Regions from separate parts of the Homo sapiens genome. Here region 1 is linked to region 2. Evidence: promoter capture Hi-C in 16 types of primary human blood cells and fetal thymus (Javierre and others, 2016). All regions are on one chromosome and are shown on one strand. Each heading gives the region's core, a stretch centred on a gene start or on the middle of the fragment in contact. The rest is flanking DNA. Distances are from core to core; before and after follow the strand shown.

The links. The method cuts DNA at HindIII sites, captures the fragments that hold promoters and counts their contacts. A CHiCAGO score of 5 or more calls a contact.
Region 1: a contact is called between the fragment with the promoter of LINC00324 here and a fragment that was not itself captured in region 2, in 1 of 17 cell types (erythroblasts). The highest score is 5.9, in erythroblasts.

The regions. Positions count from the first base shown.
Region 1 is chr17:8,222,242-8,225,707 of GRCh38, reverse strand. It overlaps LINC00324 (long intergenic non-protein coding RNA 324), which reads left to right and starts at 1,665. Exons shown (of 3, transcript NR_026951.1): 1 at 1,665-1,896; 2 at 2,434-3,415. It overlaps CTC1 (CST telomere replication complex component 1), which reads left to right. Exons shown (of 23, transcript NM_025099.6): 23 at 1-893. It overlaps TRP-CGG1-3 (tRNA-Pro (anticodon CGG) 1-3), which reads left to right and starts at 2,804; the gene lies at 2,804-2,875. It overlaps TRD-GTC2-11 (tRNA-Asp (anticodon GTC) 2-11), which reads left to right and starts at 3,399; the gene lies at 3,399-3,466. RefSeq lists enhancers at 1,882-2,121, 2,372-2,501, 2,048-2,789, 3,112-3,311 and silencers at 2,852-2,901, 3,362-3,431. The HindIII fragment of the contact is 13,535 bases long and covers 1-3,466 here.
Region 2 is chr17:8,375,647-8,379,213 of GRCh38, reverse strand. It overlaps KRABD2 (KRAB domain containing 2), which reads left to right and starts at 2,510. Exons shown (of 2, transcript NM_001304947.3): 1 at 2,510-3,314. It overlaps RPL26 (ribosomal protein L26), which reads left to right. Exons shown (of 4, transcript NM_000987.5): 4 at 1,522-1,698. The coding sequence ends at 1,650. RefSeq lists a silencer at 2,376-2,575 and an enhancer at 2,320-2,871. The HindIII fragment of the contact is 367 bases long and covers 1,671-2,037 here.

The sequences.
Region 1 (3,466 bases), core at 416-2,915, 150 kb after region 2:
CAGGGTAAGGAGTAAGCAGGGATCCGGCTGGCCTGGCCTGGCCTGGCACCAGGTTTCGTGCAGCAGGGTGCAGAAGGGCTGAGGCCATGTGAACAGAGTCCAAGAAAGCATCATTCGGGAGTCGCTAGGGATCCTGGTGTGGAAGGGCAGGGCACTTTTCTGGAGCACTGAAGCTAGGCTGGTTAAGGAAGAAATAAATGCCAGAGATAAGGCAAGAAATAGGATCTGTGAGCTCTTGGCAGGACCTAAACCTCCTTGGAAGATAGGCAGAAAGCTCTCGACACCATTCCATGGCCCACGAACCAATGTAAGATGAGCAAATGGCTTGAAGGAATTGCTACCTCCAGGTCAAGCCAGGGATGCAGCACTGCCGAGACCACGTTTGTGCCAAGCACTGGGCTGGACCCTGTGCAGAACCAAATGAACAAGGCACGTTCCCCTTTCAGCACTAACGGCACTGTAAGAACAGGGAGAAGTGGAATCTAATCTGGCCTGAGGGTAGAGGGTGATCAGCTAAGTCTGAAACACCATGTAGAAACTTGCCATGTATGGCCGGGCGCGGTGGCTCACGCCTGTAATCCCAGCGCTTTGGGAGGCCAAGGTGGGCGGATCACGAGGTCAGGAGTTCCAGACCAGCAGCCTGGCCAACATAGTGAAACCTGGTAACATAGTGAAACCTCGTCTCTACTAAAAATGCAAAAAATTAGCCAGGCGTGGTGGCAGGCGCCTGCAGTCCTAGCTACTTGGGAGGCTGAGGCAAGAGAATCGCTTCAACCTTGGAGGGGGGAGGAGGTGTTGTCAGCCGAGATCGCGCCACTGCATCCCAGCCTGGGCAACAAGAGTGAAACTCCGTCTCAAAAAAATGAAATAAAATAAACGAATGATCAGCTGTTTGTTAGTTCTTGGTTATTAAAAGTGGGGTCTATGTACGCACTTTTCTGAGGAAAAAATAAAGTGTGGGGTATGTGGATGGGATTATGTGTGAACTCCCTGGATTGTATACATGTTTAGGAAGAGGGCCATAGCTTTTTTTTTTTTTTTTTTTTTTTGAGACGGAGGGAGTCTCATTCTGTCACCCAGGCTGGAGTGCAATGGCACAATATTGACTCACTGCAACCTCCGCTTCCCGGGTTCAAGCAATTCTCCTGCCTCAGTCTCCCGAGTAGCTGGGATTACAGGCGCCCGCCACCACGCCTGGCTAATTTTTGTATATTTAGTAGAGACGGGGTTTCACCATTTTGGTCAGGCTGGTCTTGAACTCCTGACCTTGTGATCCACCCACCTCAGCCTCCCAAAGTGCTGGGATTACAGGTGTGAGCCACTGTGCCCGGTGAAGAGGGACATAGCTTTCATAAGGGTCATAAAGGATTTAGGCCTCCCCTTCTGCAGCGTTTAAGTGCCTGAGGCCAGGGAAGAGGTGACTGGATTATTTTGCAGAGAAAGCTGGGGCCCAAGGGGAGGGAGACAGGAATTGGAAAAGGGTAGGAATGGGGGAGGAGATGCCAGATCAGCCCTGAGAACCTCTTTACCCATCTCAAAGACTTGGGACACTAATGGGAAAGGCTGGGCTAACTTCTGCTGCCCTTCCCCACTGTCTGTCCAGGGGAACCTGGGAAAGACAAATAGGAGCTGAATCCTTCACTGAAAGCCCCGTCATCGTATCTATGGGTTGGGCATTAGGAACGGCCTGGCCCCACAAATCACACAACTGGGGTGTAGAACAAAATGGTTCCACAGATGACACCAGGCTGGTCCAGGGCCGATGCAGGCCAGAACCCCGCTGGGAGGACTCCCCAGAACAGGCACTGAGCTGAGGAAAGGCAGGACACGTGGTCTGCTACCGACCCCACCAGATCTTGCTGGGACTCTGGGCAGCTCCGGAGTAAGAGCAGCATGGTGAGTGTTTAAGAGCGCAGAGGCTCACTGGGCAGTCCCGGGGACACTGCTAAGTCCCCAAACCGGGTCTACAGGCCTTCGACCACATTCATGCGGCCACGTGCCTCAGAGCCTTCGGGGGGTCTTAGGAGGCAGGCAGGAGGGTCTCCCTTCTAGGCCATTCTAGGAGGGGACTGGGGAGCAGAGGTTAGACTGTAGGGTAGGGGTAACCTGATCTTACAGTCCGGAAGCCATGAGACTAGTCGCCTGGCCTTGCGCCCCGCCCCACTGCAGGGTGGAAAGCCTGTCCCCCTCCAGTCACCCAGCTCAATAACGCCCTCTTCCGTGGGTCTTCTGGGCCCCAGAAATCGTTCCCTCTTTCCCTCGCTTGGGTACTGCCATGCGGTCTGGGGAACCCGTGGACTATCGATGGGTCTGGCCCAGGGTTTGCCCTGCCCGTTAGCCCAGGAGGATAGACAGACACGGGGCACTGGTGTTCCCCTAGTGATTTCTCCTGCCCGTCCCGAAAGCAAGCAATTCCACCGCTTCTCTTCAAAGCTCTGCAACGAAGAGCTAGGTCCAAGGACCGCAGGCGGAGGCAGGAAGTGTCAAGATCCCAGGTTACGGAATGGCACCAAGTCGGTAACCAAAGGAAGCAACAACCCGGGTGTTCAAGGCAGTCGTGCAAGGCGGCGCGGGGGCGAGGCCGAGGCCACTCCCTCCCACTTCCTTGACGCTATTTCCTGGGAGGAGCCGGAGCTCGCGGCCCGGAGCCAAGAGATTCCCAGCCCAGTGCTCCAAAATACTCGGCCTGGGGGAGGCTGGTCCGTGAGCGTGCGCCCGGACCGTTCCGCCATGCATAGTGGACCCAGCACTACAGCAAGCCTGGCACGACCTCTAAGGCGGTTCGCGGCAACGTCCGCACGTCGGCTCGTTGGTCTAGGGGTATGATTCTCGCTTCGGGTGCGAGAGGTCCCGGGTTCAAATCCCGGACGAGCCCTCCTTTACCTTTTACTGAGACAAGAGTGTCTTCAAGGAATAGGTTACCTGACCAGCGCTGCAGGAGGCTTGACTGTAAGTCATCAATGTACAGTAAGCTCTTTTGTGGCACCGCGGTAGCAGAAAGCATCTCAATCCCCAGACCCGCCTGGCATGTCAGGAAGAGACGAGGCACGCCCAGACTTGGGCAGGTCCCTCCCTTTCTGCTTCCTGACTTCCTTCCTGGTGTCTCAACTCGGCCACCACAGCCTGGTTTCGCTTTGATTGACACGCGTCAATCTATAGTTGTGGATGACAGTGTTCGGGAGAGCCCAGGAACTGTCAAAACTTGGTTCTCTGCAGTCCTGAAGGCACTCTGTCTCTTTCGGTCACTCCATCTGACGATTGGTGCCTGAAATACACCTACGGTTTCTGGTCAGCGTTTATCAGTGGTTGGAAGAACAGAACCCCTAGGAACCCTGCTGTCAGCACGCAGAGTGTAAAGTCTCAGATCAAGGATTCGGAGAAAGGTCTCTACAGGTCCCTCCTCGTTAGTATAGTGGTGAGTATCCCCGCCTGTCACGCGGGAGACCGGGGTTCGATTCCCCGACGG
Region 2 (3,567 bases), core at 605-3,104:
CATCTCAAAAAAAAAAAAAGAAAAAAAATAAAGACCTTAACTGATCTTCCCTTACTTCTGACATCTTTTTCCATTCTATATGTTCTAGTCTGCTCGCCTCCTAGCAACTTGGTAGAATTATAAATTCTAAGAGCCCAGGCCTACTGAGGCAAAATTAGGGCTTATGACCCAGGTGTATGTTTTAATAAGCCCTCCAGTTGATTCTTACTCAAGTTTGAGAAACACATCTATGAAACTTGATAATCTCCTGCCTTTGAACCTTTCAACTTGCTGTTCTCTTCCAGATACCTGTGCATAGATAGATTGCTCACCACTTTAGGTCTCTGTTCAAATGTAGGGCTTTGCTTGATCACTCTAGAAAGCCCCTCGGCCTCCTCACACTTGCCTTCTTACTCTATCAAAGTGATGTAGATTCACTTGTAAATGTTTTCGGGCTCCCTATACTAGAATATGAGTTCAGTGACTGTGGAGATTTTTGTTTGGTCTGCATGCTGTATTTCCAGCACCTCTTTTCACCCTTTCCTCGCATTCATAAGACTAAAATTTATCATAATTTGGATGTCTTTTAGGATTGGAACTGTTGGAGTAAGATCGTATTGTCATCTTCTCACTAAAGATTTTGCAGGTGGAATTATGTGTGGATGCTACCTTTAATTTCTAGCATTAAAATTCTGAAGTTACTTTATTATTTTTCTGTTTGGGGGTGGGGTTTTTTTTGTTTTGGACAGAGTTTTGCTCTTGTCGCCCAGCCTGGAAGTGCAATGGTGCGATCTCAGCTCACTGCAACCTCTGCTTCCTGGGTTCAAGCGATTCTCCCGCAGTAGCCTCCTGAGTAGGCATTCACCACACCCTGCTGTTTTGTTACTTGTTTGTTTTTTGAGATGGAGTCTCGATTGATCGCCCAGGCTGGAGTGCAATAATAGCACCATCTCAGCTCACTGCAGCCTCCGCCCCCCCAGGGTTCCAGAGATTCTCCTGCCTCAGCCTCCCAGGTAGCTGGGATTACAGGCATGTGCCACCATACCCAGCTAATTTTTGTATTTTTAGTAGAGAAGGGGTTTCACCGTGTTGGCCAGACTGGTCTCAAACTCCTGACCTCAGGTGATCCGCCTGCCTCTGCCTCCCAAAGTGCTGGGATTGGGGGCATGAACCACCGCACCCAGCCTGAAGTTACTTTGGAAACAAATATATTTGTATATGACAGCTTGTAAAACTGTAGTGAGAAGAGCAGAATCATATATTTCTCAGTGAAAAAGAAACAAATCTTATAATGAAGCACAGAAGAGGCTTTAAGAATTACTGATACCATCTTGCCTTTTCTCCTTTGTTGGTAGGAAATTAGTAAATAAGCCAGGTTTGATGGCTAAAGAGTGATTTCTGGAGTTTTTTAAAAGTTAAAATCTTTTCTTATTAGGCATCCACCTACCCCAGGTTTGGGAAATGGTATTGAATGTTGGGCTTTCCCTTGTGTTTTAGTGATTATTTAAAGCTTGGGAGTGTTTTTTTCTTATTTTTCTGCAGGTGGTTATCACTAGGCTAAAACTGGACAAAGACCGCAAAAAGATCCTCGAACGGAAAGCCAAATCTCGCCAAGTAGGAAAGGAAAAGGGCAAATACAAGGAAGAAACCATTGAGAAGATGCAGGAATAAAGTAATCTTATATACAAGCTTTGATTAAAACTTGAAACAAAGAGCCTGTGTTTTGTGTGTGGTGATTTAGGACACTCCCTAGTTTTCAGTGGATCAGTCTCTTACCTCTGATTTGTTGGTCTAAAATTTTTCTGAAATCAGGACTGATGAGATTTTTTTTATAGTGGGCAGCAGCATTTGAGGATATATCAGAAGCTGGAGGGGTGTCATTGAGAAGAAGAAGGCCTACAAGAAAAGCTAGTTGGAAACACTTCCTCTTGAACCTGTCTTTTAACTTGCTTACTATGGATAGGTTGCTATATGGACAGGCTATATTTTTTACCTTACTGCGTAAAAGTTTGTATTGCCATTGGATAGGAAGTCTTGCTTTCAATAGGATAAGAAGCTTCTGTGACTTTATAGCTTCTAGATGACTTCTTCAAGCTGTTCCTCCAGATTGAGAGGTCTCGGGTTCAGGTTATCTGATAGACCCATGGGCCCCCTTTACCTTGTTTTCTGCACAAGTGCTGGATGAGTGCCATCAAACCAAAACCTAACACGTCTTTGAGTTAAAATATAAACTAAACTGCAGCTTCGTCAGGATGAAGTGAAAAGGTGTGAGGTGGCAGCAGTGTGTGTGCTCCTGCCGTTCCTCATTTTAAGCATCTAAACAGGACACCTGAAGCCCGTTTACTTTCCAGGCTGGAGACTTGGCAACAACGTGGGAATGGGGAACGGGCCCGAGTTAAGTCACTGGCTTAGCCAAGGTCACAGCTGGCATCTGGGTGAACAGCGCTGCACGGTGTCCGCGGTGCCTCTAGGGGGCGGGGCTTCCGGCTGGCGCTGACCGGCTTCCGGCGGAGCGGGCGGGAGGTGGGGCGGAGTTGCTGCTCGGGGGCCTCTGGGTGGAGGGGGATTCAGACGCCGCGTCTGGTGTGTCCCTTTCTCCTTCCTGACCTTCCTCAGTCTGCAGCTCTTTTCTCCACCGCGCGCCCGCCTCAGCCGTTCAGCCCTGAGCTGGCGGGTGGACGGGCATGGATCCAGGCGGTGGGAGCAGTCTGCGAAGTCAGGGTAGGAAGGCTACACAAAGGAGGCGACATCCCAGCCCGGTCCTCAGGAATAAGCGGGCGTGCCCGTGTGGTGTGGACGGTGAGGGGACACTGTATTAAGTGCCTTATCTGCATTATCATTGAATCTTCATAGCAATCGATTGTGATGGGTACTGGTCATCTCCCCGGGTTGTAGATGAGGAAACTGAGGCCTCAGTAACTTTGCTTTAGTCAGTAAATGATAAGAGTCAGCAAATGAATTCCCAAGCGTAGACTCGGCCGTACCGCTGCTCTACCTTGCTAATAACGACCTACCTGTAAGCGACATTTTTGACAAAATGTCCTTTAAACATCTTTTGTGCTCAGCTCTGTATTCGTGGGCCCTCCAAAGGGGGTACAGGCAGGTAGAAGCCTCCGTCCCTACCTTATAGGTTGTATATATCTGAACTGGTCGACTAAAGATGCAAAGCGAAGTGCTCCAGTGAGTGTGGTACAGGTTGTTGAGATGAAGGAGAGATGGCAATCAGCTAAAGTTACTGAATACGTCAGGAAGGAGGCTGGTTTCAGCTGGCTGTGATTGGGAGGATCAATGCGAGGACATTCCGAGTCGGAAACAGCCAAGGCGAAGACTCACAGGTGGGTGAAGGGAGTAAACATGGCTTTGGAAATATTTCCAGTTTTCTCTGACCAACTCGTTTATCACCTAGCCGTCACATAGATCACACCAAGAAGCTGATTGATTTACGGTCACATTTCTTTCATGTTGCTTTGGAAAAGATACTGAAGCCTCGGGCAACATAATGAGACCCCGTCTCTACAAAAAAAAAAAAAAAAGAAAGAAAAGAAAAAATTAGCTGGGTCTGGTGACGCATGCCTGTAGTCCCAGCTA